Regions from separate parts of the Homo sapiens genome. Here region 1 is linked to region 2. Evidence: promoter capture Hi-C in 16 types of primary human blood cells and fetal thymus (Javierre and others, 2016). All regions are on one chromosome and are shown on one strand. Each heading gives the region's core, a stretch centred on a gene start or on the middle of the fragment in contact. The rest is flanking DNA. Distances are from core to core; before and after follow the strand shown.

The links. Contacts are between HindIII fragments. The CHiCAGO score rates a contact against its expected background, and 5 or more counts as called.
Region 1: a fragment that was not itself captured here is called in contact with the fragment with the promoter of CSTF2T in region 2 in 1 of 17 cell types (fetal thymus); the score reaches 9.4 in fetal thymus.

What each region holds. Positions count from the first base shown.
Region 1 is chr10:56,361,954-56,367,187 of GRCh38, reverse strand. LOC124902546 (a long non-coding RNA gene) reads right to left here. Exons shown (of 2, transcript XR_007062372.1): 2 at 2,469-3,163. Among named protein-coding and RNA genes, the nearest start is that of ZWINT, 3.3 kb to the right of the region's middle. The HindIII fragment of the contact is 1,210 bases long and covers 2,200-3,409 here.
Region 2 is chr10:51,696,067-51,701,009 of GRCh38, reverse strand. It overlaps CSTF2T (cleavage stimulation factor subunit 2 tau variant), which reads left to right and starts at 1,415. Exons shown (of 1, transcript NM_015235.3): 1 at 1,415-4,943. The coding sequence starts at 1,461. The coding sequence ends at 3,311. All of the region lies in intron 3 of PRKG1 (protein kinase cGMP-dependent 1), which reads right to left. RefSeq lists a silencer at 287-581 and enhancers at 335-1,023, 1,148-1,727. The HindIII fragment of the contact is 5,025 bases long and covers 403-4,943 here.

The DNA of each region.
Region 1 (5,234 bases), core at 1,555-4,054, 4.7 Mb before region 2:
TCATTCTATAGTCAGCATACGGAATGCCATTGACCTCCACAGTTTCAATTGCCTACATATTTATGTTGATCAAATATATATTTCCAGTTCTCACATTTTTCCAAGCCCTAAACCTCCTTATCCATTCAAGACACATTCAAATGTCTTTTAAAAATATATACATGAATAGCTAAAATGCCTCTAATAGGTAGGTCAACAAAATCAAGTTGAAAATCTTCCTCTGTCATTTGTCAAATAGAATTATCTTCCAGGAATCACTATTTAAATAAATTGTATCACAGTTCATCCAGTTGCACCATCAGAAACTGAAGTAACATATTTTATACATCGTTTAGTAACTCCAACATATCCAACAAATGATAAAACCTATGAAGTATTTCACCTAAATATATCGAGCTATTTGTATCTTTAGTGCCAAGTTACTTATAGAATCCAAAAATGTTTTCACCTTTTACTAAGCCTACTGGAATAATCACATTTTTCAACCTTTTATTTTTCCACCCATAATTGAGGCTTAACTTTGCAATACTAAAATCTGACTTGCCATCTAATTATGAAGAAACTTTCAATAGATTTCTACTATGTTTATATAAAACCAATATGCTTAAAATGACCTACTGCAGCCTTGCATGAATTGTCCCTTATGTGCATAGAACAAATTATTAGTATCAACTATTAACAAAAAATAGCATTTATCCTCAATAAGCTTATTAGAAAAGAAGAGATATCACTCAAATAATTCTACAAGCAGATGTAAAATGCAACTGTGACTAGATAAAAAGTCTGTAGAGCTTTGTGAGCCTATAGTAAGGAGGCCTGATATAGGCATATAGGTGAAGGAAGGTTTGATCATGTCTGAAAAATCTGAACAATAATCTAGATCATGTCTGAAAAATTTGAGCAGAAATCTAAAGATGTTAGGAGTTAATTAAGTCAAAGAAAAAGACTGCAACATTAGCATACAACATCACATTCAATGCATGTAGGAGGCTATTTAGATCGTTTACAAACAAAAAAACTATATATTTTGCATTGTACTATTCATTTATAATTGTTCAGGCTAATTTTATGACCCATAATATGGACTTGACTATTGGGTATACACTGGGAAAGCATGACTATTCTGCTGTTAGGTTCAGTGTTCTATAAATTATTGTAAGTGGCTTATTGAAATCTCAACAATGACTATGGATTTATCTATTTCTCCTTGCAGTTCAGTTTTTGATTCATGTATTTTGATGATCTCATATTAGGTGTCCAAAAACATTTATGATTAAGTTCACATGATTAATTGACCCCTTTATCATGATAATATCACTTTCTTATTTCTGGTGACAGCCTTTTGCCCAAATATATATATGTATATCTATATATCTATATATATATAGATATATATATATAGATATACATATATATGTGTGTGTGTGTGTGTGTGTGTGTGTGTGTGTGTGTGTGTGTGTATATATATGCCCTAAAATAGCCACTTCAGCTTTCATCTGATTAATATTAGCATGGTATTTTTCCATCCTTTTATTTCTTTATATTTAGTGTACTTAACGTAATTTTGCTGTGGTATCCAATCTAATAATCTCTCCCTTTTAATGGTATATTTAAGGTATTTACATTTAACGGTGATAACACATATGCTTAGGCTTATACCTATCATTTTGCTATTTGTTTTTTATTCTCTTCATTTTTTTCTTTGTTCGTCTTCACTTTTTCTGCCTTCTTTTGGATTAGTTGTTTATATTTTATCTCCTTTATTGATTTGTTACCTACAATTCTTTGTTTTAGAAGTTTATAATAGTTTTCTATTGCTATGTAACAAATTATCACAATTTAGAATCTTAAAAAAACACATTTATTATCTCACAGTTTCTACAAGTCAAGATTTTAAGACAGTTTCACTGGGTCAAGGTTTTGCATTCTGCTCAAGGTCTCACAAGTTTTCAATCACGATGTTAACTGAGTAGCGTTATTTTTTATTTGATTATTTGTAGAAACTTAATCCCCTCAGGGCTGTTTGACTGAGGGCCCCATCTATTCATTGGCTATCAGCTCAGGTCTATTTACAGGTCCTAAAGGCCACTCAGAGTTCCTTGCCATGTGATAACTACCACAGGCAACTTACAACATGGTTGTATGCTTCTTCCAGGCCAGAAGGAGAATCCCTCTTTTTTTTGTGCAGTCTGCTAAGCTTCTGCTATACATGGAAATGGAGGCATGAGAGTGGCATGCTATCCCCTCTGCCTAACAAGCAACCTAATCAATAGAATGACATCCCATCACCTTTATTGTATTCTATTGGTCACAATTTCTATCTGCACTAGAAAGAAAGAAATCACACAAGGAAATGACTCACTGGTAGCCCTTCTAAAGTGTGTTGGCACTATTGCTTCAGAGAGTCTAGAACACAGTTTTAACTCATCAGTTCACCTTCAACTGATAACAAAACTTCAGAGAAACTATACAAGCATATAAATTTACTTTTATTTCTTCTCTCCCACACTTTGTGCTACATTTTACTTTTACATATGTTATAAAACCCACATCACAATTTTTTTTCCTTTAAAGATAGGGTCTCACTTTGTTACCCAGGCTGAAGTGCAATGGCATGACCAACTCATCACAGCTTTGAACTGGGCTCAAGTGATCTTCCCACCTCAGACTCCTAAGTAGCCAGGACCACATTTCACTCCTTTGTATACATTCAGATTTGAAGCTAATGCCATTTTCATTCTGCCTGAAGAACTTCTTGTTTCATGTGGGATCTTATGCTGAAAATTTCCTTCCATTTTTGTGTGTTTAAGAATGTCTTTAGTTAGCCTTCTTTTTTATTTTTATTTATTTTTTGAGACAGTCTTGCTCTGTCACCCAGGCTGGAGTGCAGTGGCACGATCTTGGCTCACTGCAACCTCCACCTCCCAGGCTCATGCCATTCTCCCGCCTCAGCCTCCCGAGTAGCTGGGACTACAGGTGCCCGCCACCACGCCTGGCTAATTTTTGTATTTCTAGTGGAGACGGGGGATTTCACTGTGTTAGCCAGGATGGTCTTGATCTCCTGACCTCGTGATCTGCCCACCTCGGCCTTCCAAAGTGCTGGGATTATAGGTGTGAGCCACTGCATCCAGCCTAGTTAGTCTTCATTTTTGAAAGCTGTTTGCTGGAAACAGAAATCAAGGTTGACTTTTTTTTATTCTTACAGTACTTGAAAGATGTTACTCTACTGTCTTGCTTGCATTGTTCCAAGAAGAAATTTCCCGTAATCCTTATCTTTGTTTCTATGTAACATGTGCCCCAACACCCCTTATTACTTTAGAATTTTTTATCAATGGTTTTGAGTTATGCAATTATGGTATAACTTGATGTCATTTTCTTAATATTTCTTGTGTTTGAGATTTGTGAAGCTTCTTGAATATATGAATTTATATTTTTCATCACATTTCAAATTTTTTGGTCTTTATTACTTGTTTTCTTGTCCTCTCCCCTTGCCTCTCTGAGACTCCACTTTCAAGTATATTATTAGGCTGTTAGAAGTTGTCTCACAGCTCACCATTGATTTGTTCATGTTACTTTATTTTCATTTTTTAATGTTGTGATTGATTTTGGGTAGTTTCTCTAGAGCTGTGTTTCACTTTCATTCTGCAATGTGTAACATACTATATTAATACCATCTAATTCCATCTATCACATTGTAGTGTTCACCTCTACAAGTTTGATTTAGGTCTTTATTACAAGCTTTGTGTCTTTGATTAACTTTTTTAACAGCTTTTATGACAGCAGTAAAGTGTAAATTTAGCGGTTTTCTGTATAGAATTGTACAACCTTCACCATAACCGAAGTGTAGAACATTTTATTTATCCCTTTAAAAGAAACACTATATCCATTTGCAGTCCCTCCCCATACTCTCTCAACCTCTCATTCCCACCAATCCCCAGCCCTGGACAAGCACTATATAAATTTACTTTCTGTTGCTATAGATTTGTCAAATCTAGACATTTCACATAAATGAAATAATATATTATGTGGTCTTTTGTAATTAGCTTCTTTCACTTAGTATATTTTCAAGGTTCATATTTTAGCATGTAGTAACCATTATTTAGCATGTAATAAAGTTCTCTTTACTACTGATTAATACTTCATTGAATGAAAGTATGCATTTTCACTCACCAGCTAATGGGCCTTTGGGTTGTTTTTACCTTTCAGCTTTTGTGAATAATGCTGCTATAGAGGTTTGTGTACTTTTGTGTCCCCATGTTTTTATTTGTCTTGGATATATAACTAGGAATGAAATTGTGACTCATATGGTAACCCTACGTTCAAAGCCTATGCACCAGTTTACATTTCCATCAACATGAGAATTCCACTTTCTTTACATCCTTAGCACCACTTACCTTTTTCATTATAGTTCTGATATCTTTTTGAAGATATGGGATATAGTTACAATAACTGTTTTAATGTCCTTGCCTGTTGATTCTAACATTACTTCAGTTCTGATCAGCAATTGATTTTTCTCCTCATTATGTGTTTTTTTTTTTCTTTTTGCAAGCTTGGTAATTTTTCTTTGTATGACATATGTAAATTGCACCTTTGGTGAACATTTTTCTATTTCTATAAATACTGCTGAAGTTTGGTCTTGTCATCTGTCATGGTTTGTTAAGTTTGATCCATTTGGGTCTTACTTTTAAGAGTTAGATGGCACTACAGCACTGATCAGCTAGGACTAATTACTGCCTACTAAATAATTAGTAAACAACTATCAAATCAAGACTTTTTTGTGTGTACTCTGTCCAGTGTCCTACGGACTATGAAGTTTTCCAGCCTGGTTAGTGGAAATAGAGACTATTTCTGACCCTCTGTAATGTCCATATATATATATTTATATATATATATATATGTATTTTTTTTTTTTTGTGAGACGGAGTCTCGCACTGTCACCAGGGCTGTAGTGCTGTGGCGCAATTTCGGCTAACTGCAACCTCAGCCTCCCTGGTTCAAGCAATTCTCCTGCCTCAGCCTCCCGAATAGCTGGGATTACAAGCGCCCACCACCACGCCCAACTAATTTTTTTTGTACTTTTAGTAGAGACGGGGGTTTCACCATGTTGGCCAGGCTGGTCTCAAACTCCTGACCTCGTAATTCACCTGCCTCAGACTCACAAAGTGCTGGGATTACAGACGTGAGCCACCGCGACCGGCCATGTCCTGGTATCTTTAAAAATCTTTTAGCTAGTT
Region 2 (4,943 bases), core at 166-2,665:
AAAATCTTTCATGTATGTTACATGTATGGCACACCTCAACCAGTATGTTAAATTTTGACTGGAAATACTTTCTTTTTATTTGTTTTTATTTTTTGTCTTAGTGTTCTTCAAAATGATTTTTATTTAGAACACAATTTATTATTGCAAAAGTAGATTCTATATCCAAGTTGTTCTAAATACTAAAAAAGTTTTCCAATAGCTTACTGAACATTAGTTTTTATATTTAAATAAAAAATGAGATTTAAAATTCATTTCTTCAATCACACTAGCTTCATTTCATATATTCAATACACGTAAGGCAGTGTAGAATTGGAGCTATGCGAGACCAAGCTGGGTTAGAATCCTGACTTGGCCTCTTTCCAGCTGCTTGTCCTTGGGAATTTACCTAGCCCTCTCCAAGCTTCAGTTCTAGCTTCGAATTGCAGGCGGGGAAACACCACACTGAATATGTTTTAACTCCTACCTGCAAAGCTAACAGCAGAAGACAAACACCCGCTATTTGTTTCTCCCTTCATGGAAGTGGTGGACTCACTGCATGATATAATAAAAATCAGAACCAATCAACGTAGGGATAGTTAAGTAAATTTCTTTATTCCATACTCTGAAGCCATAAAATACTAATAACTAATTAATCACTAATTTATTTAATCACCAATTAATATTGAAATCGGTTGTTATTAAGGAAGAAAACCGTAATATTAGGAATAGCACGACGGCTGCCCGTGTGCTCAGGAAAAACCTAGAAGGGTCTGCCACCCATCCATTAACAGCGGTTATAGGAAGCAACAGAATGGGGGCAGGGCCCAGCCGGCACACGCTTCAGTTTATATTTCTTGTCAGTTAATTTCCAAAAACGTTGTTCTAAAAAGGAGATATAATACTGTTTTAGTTTAAGGGGCAAATCTCAAATGTGCTGAAACGACTACGCTTTTCCCTCAGTCTGGAATGTGATTTTAAATCTAGCTTAACTATACTATAATAAAAGGCCACATGAAAATACTTTGTCAGAACGAAAAACACGCCGCCTTAAATCCGCTTTCGGTTGGCGGTTTCCCGCCAGCGGAACGGAAGCAAAACCGCCTTTGACGTCAAGGGAAGAGTCCCCTCCCAGTTACTACGGTGAAGTCTATGCGGCCATCTTTACTGTGGTCATCTCGTACCAAGCGTGTCGTAGTGGGGCTGTTGGGGCCCCACAGAAAGTCAGCGGAACGTGAAATGGGAAAGGAATCATGCGACTCTGTAATAAGAAGCTGACAGAACCATGAAGGATCAGGGACTGAAAGCATTAGATAAGTTGTTAGTGGGATGCAGGTTCCACAGGCAAGCGGAACGATTCAAGCGAATTAGTAAAGTTTCTGCCCGGATCTTGAAAGCCGCTTCCGTTGCTCAGCGGAAGTGTCGGTCGCAAGAGGACAGACGCCTCGAAGAATCCGCTATCGGCTGTCTGCACAACCGGAATCATGTCGAGTTTGGCGGTGAGAGACCCGGCAATGGATCGATCACTGCGTTCCGTGTTCGTGGGGAACATTCCATATGAGGCAACTGAGGAGCAGTTAAAGGACATTTTCTCGGAGGTTGGTTCTGTTGTCAGTTTCCGGCTGGTATACGATAGAGAGACGGGAAAACCCAAGGGCTATGGCTTCTGCGAATACCAAGACCAGGAGACCGCGCTTAGTGCCATGCGGAACCTCAATGGGCGGGAGTTCAGTGGGAGAGCGCTTCGGGTGGACAATGCTGCCAGTGAAAAGAATAAGGAGGAGTTAAAGAGCCTTGGGCCTGCAGCGCCCATTATTGACTCACCCTATGGGGATCCCATCGATCCAGAAGATGCCCCTGAATCGATTACCAGAGCAGTAGCCAGTCTCCCCCCGGAGCAGATGTTTGAGCTGATGAAGCAGATGAAGCTCTGTGTCCAAAACAGCCACCAGGAAGCTCGAAACATGTTACTTCAAAATCCACAACTGGCTTATGCACTGTTGCAGGCACAAGTAGTGATGAGAATCATGGATCCAGAGATTGCTCTGAAAATTCTGCATCGGAAGATACATGTCACACCACTGATCCCAGGCAAATCTCAGTCTGTGTCTGTCTCTGGCCCTGGCCCTGGCCCTGGCCCTGGGCTCTGCCCAGGACCTAATGTTCTGCTGAACCAGCAGAATCCTCCAGCTCCTCAGCCTCAGCATTTGGCTAGAAGACCTGTGAAGGACATTCCTCCTCTGATGCAGACTCCTATCCAGGGTGGAATTCCAGCTCCAGGGCCAATACCAGCTGCAGTTCCCGGAGCTGGTCCTGGTTCCTTAACTCCTGGAGGAGCAATGCAGCCCCAACTTGGAATGCCAGGGGTTGGCCCAGTGCCTTTAGAGCGGGGACAAGTGCAGATGTCAGATCCTAGAGCTCCTATACCTCGCGGACCCGTGACTCCTGGTGGTCTGCCTCCTCGAGGACTGTTAGGAGATGCTCCAAATGACCCACGTGGAGGGACTTTGCTTTCAGTCACTGGAGAAGTGGAGCCCAGAGGTTATCTGGGTCCACCCCATCAGGGTCCCCCCATGCATCATGCCTCTGGTCATGACACTCGTGGCCCTTCCTCACATGAGATGAGGGGAGGGCCATTAGGAGATCCCAGACTGCTAATTGGAGAGCCCAGAGGCCCCATGATAGATCAAAGGGGTCTACCTATGGATGGTAGAGGTGGTAGAGATTCTCGAGCGATGGAGACTCGTGCCATGGAAACTGAGGTCTTAGAGACACGTGTAATGGAGAGGAGAGGAATGGAGACCTGTGCGATGGAAACCAGAGGGATGGAAGCAAGGGGCATGGATGCAAGAGGATTGGAGATGAGGGGCCCTGTCCCCAGTTCAAGAGGCCCTATGACTGGTGGAATTCAGGGTCCTGGTCCCATTAATATAGGGGCAGGTGGCCCTCCTCAGGGACCCAGACAGGTCCCAGGCATTTCAGGGGTGGGGAATCCTGGAGCTGGTATGCAGGGTACAGGCATACAAGGAACAGGCATGCAGGGAGCAGGCATACAAGGAGGAGGGATGCAGGGGGCAGGCATACAAGGAGTCAGTATACAAGGAGGAGGTATACAAGGAGGAGGTATACAGGGGGCAAGCAAGCAAGGTGGAAGCCAGCCTAGCAGTTTTAGTCCTGGGCAGAGCCAGGTCACTCCACAGGATCAGGAGAAGGCAGCTTTGATCATGCAGGTTCTTCAACTGACTGCAGATCAGATTGCCATGCTGCCCCCTGAGCAAAGGCAGAGTATCCTGATTTTAAAGGAACAAATCCAGAAATCCACTGGAGCGTCTTGAAAGGTTTTAGAAAATATTTGGCTGTAGTCTCAAATTTTATTCTGTAGCATGGAGAATGGGTGCAAAAAGCTGACTTCTGTATCCCCACACTTGGATTAGGGTTTCCCTCCTCCTAGAACCTAATCTTATTTTTTGTTCTTTTTCTTTCTTTCTGTTTTCCTTTTTTTTTTAATTGAGGGTGGGGGGAGGAGGGAGTGCGTCTGTTCACTTTAAGTTACTTTAAAATAACTCTGAACATGATTATATTATGCCAAATAAGATTACAAAGAATAAGCAGCAATATTGAAGCATCTACAGTATGTTAACTACATTTTTTAAATGTCGAGTAAAACTTCGTGAAAACTGCTCATAAAGACTAAAAGTTGACCTGTTAAAACGTTAATGTACTAAGATAGTTTTAAGATTTTTGGTTGTATAACAAAATAAAAGTTTACCCAAAAGTATAAGATACATTTTTTGGTAAACCATTTAAAATACAAAATCCTATTTTGGAGGCAATAGGATAAGCATTGTCTTAGTGTTTTAGAATTATTTTTGAAACAGAGTTAACAGGATAAGGTTACACTTGTATTAGAATTGTTTTTTTCTAAAGTTATGTTACCTGAAAAATCAAGGAGTGCACCTGATTTACTGTTGCTTCATTTATCCCATCCTTCAGAGACCAGCAAGGTTCTGCCAGGCCCCAAGCATCTGAGCATGATGATTTTGCTGTGACAATTCTAAGATCAACCAGGTTACTTAAGTCCGCTCTGATGAAACCCAGTCTCTCAATACCTTCCTATTTCTCAATAGTCTTTAAGCCCTAAATCTGAGTCAGTAATTCTCTAAAAATCCTTCCCAAAAATCAGTGTCTAGGGACTGGTTGATCTAGATGAGTTATAAATGGTATTTGACTTTTCATAAGTAGTGGAAGGTTTCACTAAGTAAAGATCTGAGTTTCTTGGTATCTGACGTTTGTATACAGATGGTGTCCATTTGCTCAACCAGACAGGAGTTAACTTGTATTAGAATTGTTTTTTCTAAAGTTATGTTACCTGAGAAATTAAGGACTGCACCTGGTTTAATGTTGCTTCACTTATCCCACCCTACAGAGACCAGCAAGGTTCTGCCAGGCCTCGAGCATCCAAGCATGATTTTGCTGTGACAAATCTAAAATCAACCAGGCTACTTAAGTCTGCTCTGATGAAACCCAATAATCTCTCAATACCTTCCTATTTCTCAATAGTCTTTAAACCCTAAATCTGAGTCAGTAATTCTCTTACATCCTTCCCAAAAATCAGTGTCTAGGGACTAGTTGATCTGGATGAGTTATACATGATATTTGACTTTTCATAAGTAGTGGAAGGTTTCACTAAGTAAAACTCTCAGTTTCTTGGTATCTGGCTTTCTTATACAGATGGTGTCCATTTGCTCCACCAGACAGGAGTTAAAAACCTTTAAAGAGCATTTAACATGCCTTTTAGTTTTCTTATTTCATAATCTACTTTTCTATCATTAATCATCTTACCAGGAATAATCAAGGCCCAGGTAGGTAGAAGTTTTTATATAGCCTGAATACTCACTTGACTTACTGCTCATTTTACTTTTTGCATGGAATACAGCCATTTAGTCCTAATATACATACCAATGAGA